3 separate regions of the Homo sapiens genome follow, and all the other regions are linked to region 2. Evidence: promoter capture Hi-C in 16 types of primary human blood cells and fetal thymus (Javierre and others, 2016). All regions are on one chromosome and are shown on one strand. The core of a region is centred on a gene start or on the middle of the fragment in contact, and the rest is flanking DNA. Distances in the headings are between cores, read along the strand shown. Region 1 overlaps CHD3 (chromodomain helicase DNA binding protein 3). Region 2 holds the start of GUCY2D (guanylate cyclase 2D, retinal). Region 3 holds the start of ALOX12B (arachidonate 12-lipoxygenase, 12R type).

Region 1 (3,371 bases), core at 872-3,371, 110 kb before region 2:
CCGGGCTCCAGAGGGCAAATGGAGCTGCCCTCACTGTGTGAGTACCTAATGCCAGCATCTGATGGCCCTGAGGAACCCACCCATCTCTTTCCCCCTTGGTTTCACTTACCCTCTTCCTGCCCCCAGATGGCTGGACTTCTTAGTAACAGATGTCCGAGTGTCTAGGATCCTAATGTATTCCTTTCTCCCACAATCAACATTTCTGAAACTGGAGTGTCCTTTTCCTTAGTTCCCACCAGTCTTCTCTGCACTTCTAGGATTCAGGTGTCCTGTCTTTGCCTGTATCTTCCAGTTTCATTCCTTAATTTCTTCCATCTGTCTGTGTGTCTATCCTTGGCCCCCTAGGAGAAGGAGGGGGTCCAGTGGGAGGCCAAGGAGGAAGAAGAAGAATACGAAGAGGAGGGAGAGGAAGAAGGGGAGAAGGAGGAGGAGGATGATCACATGGAGTACTGCCGCGTATGCAAGGACGGCGGGGAGCTCCTGTGCTGTGACGCGTGCATCTCCTCCTACCACATTCATTGTCTAAACCCTCCCCTGCCTGACATTCCCAATGGTGAATGGCTGTGTCCCCGATGCACAGTGAGTGGAAACATCTCCCCTCTGTATTTACTGTCAGGCCTGATCCCTTCCCCCATCCCTGGGGCCCACATGTCCAGCTTTTCATTTCTCTGCACTCCCCCACCCTTGTGGGACCCCTATCTTCTCATCTAACAATGGGTTCTTTCTGCCTCTTTCTTTCCTCCTCCTTGTACGTGTCCATCCCAAAGTGCCCCGTGCTGAAGGGTCGAGTGCAGAAGATCCTACATTGGCGGTGGGGGGAGCCACCTGTAGCAGTGCCAGCCCCTCAACAGGCAGATGGAAATCCAGATGTCCCACCCCCCCGTCCTCTTCAAGGCAGATCAGAGCGAGAGTTCTTTGTCAAGTGGGTAGGACTATCCTACTGGCACTGCTCCTGGGCCAAGGAGCTTCAGGTACTAGGACCTTTTCTTTCCCTCTCCCCCATGACCTCATTTCCTGCCATCCTCTCCCTCTCTTACTCCTCTGTTTGTTGGGTTCCCATACTCTTTGTTTTCTCTCATTTCAGGCCTGTGGCCTTCATACCCTACTTGCTTAGTTTCCATATGTGGTTCTTTTGGTCTACAGTCCTCTTTCTCTCAGTCTCCGTTAGCTTCCTTCCCTCAGATATAGCATAGCCTTTCCTAACTTCATGTCCTTCCTTATCTGTCTTTTTCCATGTTTTATAATATTCCTGGCTGGGCATGGTGGCTCACACCTATAATCCTAGCACTTTGGGAGGCCAAGGCAGGAGGATTGCTTGAGACCAGCCTGGGCAACATAGTGAAACCCCATCTCTGTTTAAAAAAAAATTCTCGGCTGGGTGTGGTGGCTCACGCCTGTAATCCCAGTACTTTGGGAGGCCGAGGTGGGCGGATCACCTGAGGTCAGGAGATCGAGACTATCCTGGCTAACATGGTGAAACCCCATCTCTACTAAAAATACAAAAAAATTAGCTGGGCGTGGTGGCAGGCACCTGTAGTCCCAGCTACTCAGGAGGCTGAGACAGGAGAATGGCGTGAACCCGGGAGGCGGAGCTTGCAGTGAGCCAAGATCGTGTCCCTGCACTTCAGCCTGGGCGACAGAGCGACACTCTATCTCAAAAAAAAAAAAAAAAAAAAAAAAATTCTCAATGTTTCTAATCCCATTCCCTATCTCTTGCTTGTAAGAGCCCCACCCAGGCCTTGTCTTCTGAAACTGTTGCATCTGTTTCATTTTATTTATTCTCCGTCTTGGCTTTGACTCATTTATCTCTAATCCATCCTTTTTCTTTTTTTTTCTATTTTTTTTTTTTTTTAGATGGAGTTTCGCTCTTGTTGCCTAGGCTGGAGTGCAGTGGCACGATCTTGGCTTACTGCAACCTCTGCCTCCTGGGTTCAAGCGATTCTCCTGCCTCAGCCACTCAAGTAGCTGGGATTACAGGCATGCGCCACCACGCTTGGCTAATTTTGTATTTTTAGTAGAGACGGGGTTTCTCCATGTTGATCAGGCTGGTCTCGAACTCCCAACCTCAGGTGATCCACCTGCCTCTGCCTCCCAAAGTGCTGGGACGCGCCTGTTATTCTCTTATTGCCCCGGCTGGAGTGCAGTGGTGTGATCTTGGCTCGCTGCAACCTCCGCCTCATGCATTCAAGCGATTCTCCTGCCTCAGCCTCCTGAGTATCTGGGATTACAGGCGTGCGCCACCACACCTGGCTAATTTCTGTATTTTTAGTAGAGACGGGGTTTCGCCATGTTGGCCAGGCTGGTCTTGAACTCCTGACCTCAGGTGATCCACCCGCCTGAGCCTCCTAAAGCACTGGGATTACAGGCATGAGCCACCGTGCCTGGGCCAATCCATCCTTTTTCATAGCTCCCTTTCCCTGTCCCATTCCTCCTGCCGGCCTCTTCCCGGTTCCTTGTTGTCCTCTGTGAGTGTCAGGACTATCTCTTTCCCTTTTTTCTGTGCCCTGCTAGCTGGAAATCTTCCATTTGGTTATGTATCGAAACTACCAGCGGAAGAATGACATGGATGAGCCCCCACCCCTGGACTATGGCTCCGGCGAGGATGATGGGAAGAGCGACAAGCGTAAAGTGAAAGACCCGCACTATGCTGAGATGGAGGAGAAGTACTATCGTTTTGGCATCAAGCCAGAGTGGATGACCGTCCACCGCATCATCAACCACAGGTGAATCCTCGGTCCCTGGGAAGTCAGACCTGGTATATGACATTATTCTTACCATGGTGATGGCCCCATGTTAGTATTTGCTGATTAACCAGGTAATTGATCTAACCTTGATAACCTCTGCTGTAGCTCCAGCCTTTCTGGCCTTGTTTCCTCCAGGGGAACGGGAGAAAACAGGAGGAAAATCCGGCCAGGCAGTGCCTCTTTTGTCCTTTGCCTCCTGTCATCTCCAGTGGCATAAGACATAGCACATGAGTCTGGGGATGAGGGCATGAAAGCAAAACATGAGAGACATAATTCATCCAGACCAGTGTTTTGAATGTTTCTTCTTCATAGTACTTATTACTGCCTAAACTTAATGGTATGTATTTAGTTATTTCAATGCTGCCTTCCCCACGAGACTCTGAGTTCCATGAGGAAAATACTTAGTGATTAGGTGAACAAATGATAAGGAGGGATCTCCAGGAATGTTTTGTGATAGCTGATTTTTAGGATACCATCCTGAGAAGGTTAGGCTGCTAGGTCAACTATTCCAATCTCCCTTCCAGCAGCTCACTGTTGACGGTTGGGTGACAAATTTTGTGTGTTTGCTGATAATTGCGTTTCTCAGGCCTTCTTTCTGTTTGTGATCTGTGCAATATTTTCCTCCTG
Region 2 (3,692 bases), core at 529-3,028:
TAGCACTTTAAAAAAATCCAATGATACAGAATCCAAACTAAGGGCAGGTGTTGCATATAATTGTCATGTCTTTTTAGGTTTCTTTAATCTGAAACAGTTCCTCAACCTCTATTTGCCTTCTATGACATTGACATTTTTGAAGAATGCAGTCCTCCCCACCTTTTTAAATAGAACGTTTCTCATTTAGTGTTTATCTTATGTTTCCTTGTGATTAGATTTGAAATAATGCTGGAACATTGCCGAGACGTATTGTGCAGCACTGCATAGGTGTAGTATTATGTCCTTCTCAGGGTATCACATCTGGAGGCAAAGAATGTCTCTCTGCCCCTCATGGTTAATTTTGATCACTTGCTTAAAGTATTGCCCCATTTCTCCACTGTACAATGACTGCTTTTTATTTTATTCCCCACTCCCTTCCAACTCATGGCAATCTGGAGGGAGATACTTTCAGACCCTGCAAAAGTTCTGCTCCTCATCCAACATTTCCCCCAGCTTTAGAATCCACTGATGATTCTTACCTGATCCAATCTTTGCCACCAAGTCTGAAAATGATTCATTTAAAAGTTTTTAAGTTTTATTTTTCACATATAGGTCTTTGACCTGGAATAGATTTTGTGTATGGTGTGAGATAGGGATTGAATTCTATTTTCCCCCCAGATGGCTAATCAGCTCCATTTGTTGAAGTTTATTCTTTCCCAGTTGGTAAGAAATGTCCACGTCTTCACACATTTGCTGTGTTTGTTTCAGTACTGTATATTCTATTTCATTGGTCCATTTGTTTATCCTTGTGCCAAAACTATGAAGTCTTTATTGCCATAGCTTTATAATATATATTTATATAAATATATAATTGCTGTCACTACATAATGTGGATTTATATAAATATATAATATATAATTGCTATAGCTTTATAGTATATATTTATATAATTGCTGTTTTATATATCATATAATTATATAAATATATAATTGCTATGTTTTATATATTATATATTTATGTAGATATATAATTGCTATGTTTTATATATTATATATTTACATAAATACATAATTGCTATTGCTTTATAATAAATTTGTATATCTTATAGGGCATCTTCCATTATACTCTTCTCTAAAATTGTTAGCTATTCTTGCCATCCGGGCAATTATATTCATTTTCACAACAACCCTCAGATTAAGCAATTGCCCAAGGTCCAAAAATCAGCAAGAGGGACTTGGAACCCAGGTCTGTCGGAGGCCAAAGCTCTTTTCATTACTTCCTGAGGGTGGTTTTCTAGGCATGGAGAAGCAGAGGTCAGGGAATCAAGTGTGGCGAGAGAGAGAAGAGAAGTGAAAGAAGAAAGGCAGGTGTCAGCTTGGTGTGGGTTTGGTCTCTGGGATATAGACTTTGCCAGCCAAAGGATGGAGCTTGAACTTAGCTGGCAGAACTGGAAACAGAAGATTGTAAGGAAAGGGACTGGGATCAGTGTTTCTTCTCCAGGACGGATTACCCACAGCTGTCCACGGGCAGGCACTTGTTACTTTCTGGCTGAGCAGGGCAGTGTGGCCGACGGCTGAAAGGGGAAGCTGCGGCTGCTTTTGTGCAGGGGTGGTGGTGATGAGGGTGATGTGGGGGGCTGGAAGGCATGGAGGGGAAAGGATCTGGCTGACTACCTGGAAGCCAGGACAGATCCCACCCCAGAAAGGCGCAGTAGGGGCTCTCATCCTCCACTAGCCCGCCCCTCCCTACCTAATTAAGGACCCTAATCAGCTTGGGGAGATTAAGGGCTCTGGCCGGCTGTACCCACGCCCCCGCCCTGGCCTGGGCTGGCAAGGAAGACCTGTGGGCGGGCGTCAAAAGGGGGACCGGCCCTGTGACCCCTCACCGGGGGCCGTGGGCCCGAGCCCCCGGACTTCCCTGTAAATGTCAGAGGCCCCTCCGCTGGGATAGGGTCGGTCTGAGGGCGCAGGCGAGTCCCTGCTGACCCCTGACGCCTCCGACGGGGGGAGGGGCAGGCCGGGTGGGAGCGGGAAGCCGGGGCGGCAGAAGGGGGCTTCGGGGCGGTGTCCTTGGCCCCAGTTAGTCTTCCCAGCCTCCGGAGGGGGCGGTAGCAGCAGAATCATCCCATGGGTTACTCGGGCTTGGAGAAACTCGGGGTTACGGGGAGAACCCTAGGGGAGGCCGGGGTCTCAGTCGCTCAGCCTGCTCCGTCTGTGTTCGCAGAAGCCGGCAATGACCGCCTGCGCCCGCCGAGCGGGTGGGCTTCCGGACCCCGGGCTCTGCGGTCCCGCGTGGTGGGCTCCGTCCCTGCCCCGCCTCCCCCGGGCCCTGCCCCGGCTCCCGCTCCTGCTGCTCCTGCTTCTGCTGCAGCCCCCCGCCCTCTCCGCCGTGTTCACGGTGGGGGTCCTGGGCCCCTGGGCTTGCGACCCCATCTTCTCTCGGGCTCGCCCGGACCTGGCCGCCCGCCTGGCCGCCGCCCGCCTGAACCGCGACCCCGGCCTGGCAGGCGGTCCCCGCTTCGAGGTAGCGCTGCTGCCCGAGCCTTGCCGGACGCCGGGCTCGCTGGGGGCCGTGTCCTCCGCGCTGGCCCGCGTGTCGGGCCTCGTGGGTCCGGTGAACCCTGCGGCCTGCCGGCCAGCCGAGCTGCTCGCCGAAGAAGCCGGGATCGCGCTGGTGCCCTGGGGCTGCCCCTGGACGCAGGCGGAGGGCACCACGGCCCCTGCCGTGACCCCCGCCGCGGATGCCCTCTACGCCCTGCTTCGCGCATTCGGCTGGGCGCGCGTGGCCCTGGTCACCGCCCCCCAGGACCTGTGGGTGGAGGCGGGACGCTCACTGTCCACGGCACTCAGGGCCCGGGGCCTGCCTGTCGCCTCCGTGACTTCCATGGAGCCCTTGGACCTGTCTGGAGCCCGGGAGGCCCTGAGGAAGGTTCGGGACGGGCCCAGGGTCACAGGTAGGCTCCCTTGCAGGGTGCGAGGAGGTCGGCTGGTCCTGCCGGCAGCCGGACGGCGCCGCGAGCCAAGCCTCTGTCCGCAGCAGTGATCATGGTGATGCACTCGGTGCTGCTGGGTGGCGAGGAGCAGCGCTACCTCCTGGAGGCCGCAGAGGAGCTGGGCCTGACCGATGGCTCCCTGGTCTTCCTGCCCTTCGACACGATCCACTACGCCTTGTCCCCAGGCCCGGAGGCCTTGGCCGCACTCGCCAACAGCTCCCAGCTTCGCAGGGCCCACGATGCCGTGCTCACCCTCACGCGCCACTGTCCCTCTGAAGGCAGCGTGCTGGACAGCCTGCGCAGGGCTCAAGAGCGCCGCGAGCTGCCCTCTGACCTCAATCTGCAGCAGGTAGACGGTCCCGGGAGGAGGGAAGAAGGCAAGGGAGAGGGGAGAGGACAGCCAAAGCAGGGAGAGGAGGATGCAGCCAATGGAGAAAGAACCACTGGCAGCTCTAGCTGTTTGGAGTTTCCTGGGTAATGTAGAGGCTCTGGCCCCACTTGGGGTCTCTTAGTGTACGAGGATTGCCTCTAGAGAGTAGGCAATTCGACCTCTCAAGTCCAACATCAAGCAGTAAACTCTAATGAACTGTAAACTGCAAAACCTTTTGCAATTGGCTTCAAAGTAAACCCGTTTCCACCACCACATACTCCCAGCTGTCTAAAATAAATACTTGGTGTTCTTGAAAGCAGGAAGGAGGGAGGATGCCAATCCAACCTTCAT
Region 3 (3,677 bases), core at 6-2,505, 85 kb after region 2:
ATCCCCAGCTCCTGTCTTCTCCCACTCCCCTCTCCAGGCACCTGAGGTTGCAGGAACCCTTCAGACCCCTGGGGACTTGGGTACCACTCTACAGTTTTCGAGTGGGGAGAGGCCCAGCCAGCCCCTTCTCCCATTCATCAATGAAGATGCAGATATTCAGAATGGCCACATAGATAGAGTGACCTATTAAGGTCGCCTAGCAGCAGGTGGCTGGGTCTGACTGAAAATCAGGTCTGAGGACCCGCAAAGCGTGCCTTCCACTGGACAGGCTGGTCTGATGCCATTTTAAGTCACAGAGAATCCAGTGCAAATGTGAGACAGTTAGGAGGCAGCTGAATTAGGAAGAGTGACTGAGAATGGAAGAGAGAGGGATGCGGGAGAGGGGGTAAGACAGAAAGGGGAGGAGAGCAAAGGGGAAGGAAAGCAGGTGGAAAGGATTGAGAAAAGAGAGATGCAGGATAGGCAGAGACAGGGAGAGAGGGCTGAGGAAGAGGGAGAGAGAAGAAAAGGATGGGGAGGGAGATGAGGAATGCCTGAAAGGGTTAGAGATGAAGGAGCAGGATGGAGAAGGATGGCCCAGAGATCTGGGACATGGGCGAGGGGCTGGAAGCCAGCTCTGGACAAGGCGTGTAGAGCCACTGGGGAGCCCACTGCCTTCGGAGCTGTGCCTCAGCTCTCCAGCCTCTCCTCGCCAAGCTCAGCTCACCTGGCTCCCCCTGCGCACCTTCACCCCTCCCGGGGCCACAAAGACACACAGACACACACAGACACACACAGACACACACACACACACACACAGACACACACACACACACACACACACACACACTCTTACCGCCCCAGTTGCAAAGTCTCTCCCAAAGTGGTTCAGCAGCTGCTTATGGCTCTCTCCTTGTGTCCCCACAATGGTCAGTGAGATGGAGTCCCGTGTTCCCGACAAGAGGTCGGTGCCTGTGGCCACCCTGACTTTGTAGGTGGCCATGGCTGCTCTTCAGGAGGCAAGAGGGGCACTCAGTCCCAGACACCGTGGAGGGGCCACACGAAGGCCCAAGGCAGGCAAGAGAAGCCAGGCACAGAGTGGAGTGGACAGGGCTGGCCTCCGAGGTGCAGTGGTGAGGTGGCGAGGTGGGGTGACTAGGCCTGCCAGCCAAATTCTGGAAAAGCTGCTGCCCTTGGTGGCCGGGGTGGGTGCCGGGCAGGCCCAGGCGGAGCCCAGCTGGTGGTGAGTGAGCAGGTGTCTGGGCTCCAAGCCTTCTGGGAGCTGGTGGGGAGGAAGAGCAGGCAGGGCACTGGGCCTGCCTCTGAAAGGGCGGATAGAAGATGCCGTGGATGAAGGCGCCTTCAGGGTGGGGGAGCCAGTCCAGCCTGAGCCAGGGCCCTAGGGAAGTTGCGGGAGGGGGCAGGGTGTGGTCCCCAGATCTTTATCAGACTAATAAGCTCCTTCCTCCTGCCAGTCCCCATTGGCTACAGTGCCAGGCACCCCTACTAAGCAGGGCCATGGGCAGTGAGTGACTTGCATTGGTTCTGAGGCCACTGGTGGGCGGGGGAGGGGAGGGGGAGGGGCACTAAGTGGCAGCGCAGCTGGCCAGCCTCCAGGCCATTCCTCTCTGGGAAATGGGACAGGTAGTGGCCACAGTGAGAAAGCTGGCCTGTCCTTCTGCCCCAGGGCCCAGAGTCTGTGACTGGAAGGGTGGGAGGTGTTGAAGCTAGGGCTCGGGGACCACATGGGTGCCCAAAGGCCTGAAGATGCTGCGGGGAGGAACGATCAGGGTAGGAGAAGGGGATCTGTTGCTTCCTGTGGGGCCAGGATCCACTGGTGAGGGATTGGAGTTGGATATAAAATCAGAAGCCCAAAAAAAAAAAAAAAAAAACTAAATTAGAAGACAGAGTGAAATCTGGGGCATAAGAATTAAGTTAAATAGCTGGGCGTGGTGGCTCACGCCTGTAATCCCAGCACTTTAGAAAGCCAAGGCAGGTGGGTCACCTGAGCTCAAGAGTTCGAGACCAGCCTGGCCAACATGGTGAAACCTTGTCTCTACTAAAAATACAAAAATTAGCCAGGCGTGGTGGCATGCGCCTGTAGTCCCAGCTACTTGGGAGGCTGAGGCAGGAGAATCGCTTGAACTCAGGAGGCGGAAGTTGCAGTGAGTTGAGATCGTGCCACCGCACTCCAGCCTGGGCAACAGAGCAAGACTCCGTCTCCAAAAAAAAAAGACAAAAGAATTAAGTTAAATAATGGATTAATATGATCAATATTTTGTGGTATAATCATAAAATAGAATTCTACCCAGGAATAAAAAGAATGAACTGCAATGCGGATGAGTCTCACAAAGATGATACTGAGCAAAAAGAGCCAGACATTAAAGGGGATACGTTCTGTTATCCATTGATAGGAACTTCCAGAACCAGCAAAACTGAGCAATTCTCAGACAACCTCTACTGGTGAGTATCCCTGGCAGAGGGAGGCCATATAGGCTGCTGGAGGTGTTCTTATCTTGATCTGAGGGGCGTCTAGGGTACTTCATTCATTTCATTATGTGTTATCCTTTAATTTCATAAAGTACATACCCTCACTTCCCTCCCAAAAAAGAATGAAGCTAGGAAGAGGGCTGGAGGCAGGGCTGAGCTCCAGTGGAACTGTGTTTGTTGGGAACCAGGTCGTTCCTCCCTCAGATATGTAGTGAGCACGGTGCACGGCGTTCTAGGCACTGCAGAGGCAGAGAAGAAATGAAACATACATGGAGCTTACGGAATAGCTGGGAAAGAAGTGAAAGAAACAGTAAACAAGAATTTGTTCACTATAATTTTGGATACTAAGTGCTCTGAAGAAAATAAGCGTGGGAGGTTGGGATTGGGAACTAGTTGCTGATAGAATCACAGAAGTCAGAGCCGCAGGATAGGGAGAAGGTGTTAGGAGTAAGGTGAAGAGCATTATGAGAGAGTCAGAGATAGACTCTCCAAAGATAGGATTTGGGACCCAGGGAGAGTGAGGAGGCAGGCACGTTCCTATTCCCTTTTTCTGGACCTGTCCTCTTTCCTTTCACCTCCGAGGAGCAGCTTCTGTCAACCAGGAAGCATAGCCCTGCTTTCCTCCCTGATGGCACGCTTCCATCACCATCGAAGGAAGGTCATTCAATGCCCAGGCCAAGTTAGGGTCAGAGGGGGCTGGGATTGTGAGATGAAGAGAAGGTTCCAGTAGGTTCCAGACTGGATGTGGAATGGGGTCGAAACTGCAATTCAGGTTTAGGTTAGAGACACAGATGTGGCTGGAGTTGGGGATTGAAATGATCTTTTCCAGACCCAAATCTGTTCACATCACTCTCTATGTTCCCTCCTCCCAACCCTGATCAAGCCTGGCAGTGGCTCCTCTTTACCTTTGGGACAGTGACACCATCCCCTCCCGTGGCCCCCACGGCCTGCCTGATTGGCTTCACCCCTCACATTCCCCTTTGCTCTCTTCTGTCTGGGACCACGTGCCTTTCATTCATTCATCAACAGACACTGGCCGAACCCCTACTGTGTGTTCAGCGCTGTGTCAGGTCCTGAAAATACAATGCGATCAAAGCAAACCCCTGCACCCATGGAGCTTGCCTTCAAGTGAGGGAAGCAGACAATATTACCTAGTAACCAAATACATTAAATAGTATGTTAAATAGTGATAAGTGCTGAAGAGAAAA

What was found. The method cuts DNA at HindIII sites, captures the fragments that hold promoters and counts their contacts. A CHiCAGO score of 5 or more calls a contact.
Region 1: a contact is called between a fragment that was not itself captured here and the fragment with the promoter of GUCY2D in region 2, in 1 of 17 cell types (activated CD4 T cells). The highest score is 5.2, in activated CD4 T cells.
Region 3: the fragment with the promoter of ALOX12B here is called in contact with the fragment with the promoter of GUCY2D in region 2 in 1 of 17 cell types (monocytes); the score reaches 5.1 in monocytes.

What each region holds. Positions count from the first base shown.
Region 1 is chr17:7,894,572-7,897,942 of GRCh38, forward strand. CHD3 (chromodomain helicase DNA binding protein 3) reads left to right here. Exons shown (of 40, transcript NM_001005273.3): 8 at 1-37; 9 at 346-579; 10 at 768-971; 11 at 2,512-2,723. Among named protein-coding and RNA genes, the nearest start is that of CHD3, 7.5 kb to the left of the region's middle. RefSeq lists an enhancer at 1-376. The HindIII fragment of the contact is 5,669 bases long and covers 1-3,371 here.
Region 2 is chr17:8,000,837-8,004,528 of GRCh38, forward strand. GUCY2D (guanylate cyclase 2D, retinal) reads left to right here and starts at 1,779. Exons shown (of 20, transcript NM_000180.4): 1 at 1,779-1,898; 2 at 2,203-2,932; 3 at 3,016-3,320. The coding sequence starts at 2,212. The HindIII fragment of the contact is 12,410 bases long and covers 1-3,692 here.
Region 3 is chr17:8,086,461-8,090,137 of GRCh38, forward strand. ALOX12B (arachidonate 12-lipoxygenase, 12R type) reads right to left here and starts at 1,256. Exons shown (of 15, transcript NM_001139.3): 1 at 836-1,256. The coding sequence starts at 982. It overlaps MIR4314 (microRNA 4314), which reads left to right and starts at 1,596; the gene lies at 1,596-1,687. RefSeq lists an enhancer at 284-1,032. The HindIII fragment of the contact is 26,367 bases long and covers 1-3,677 here.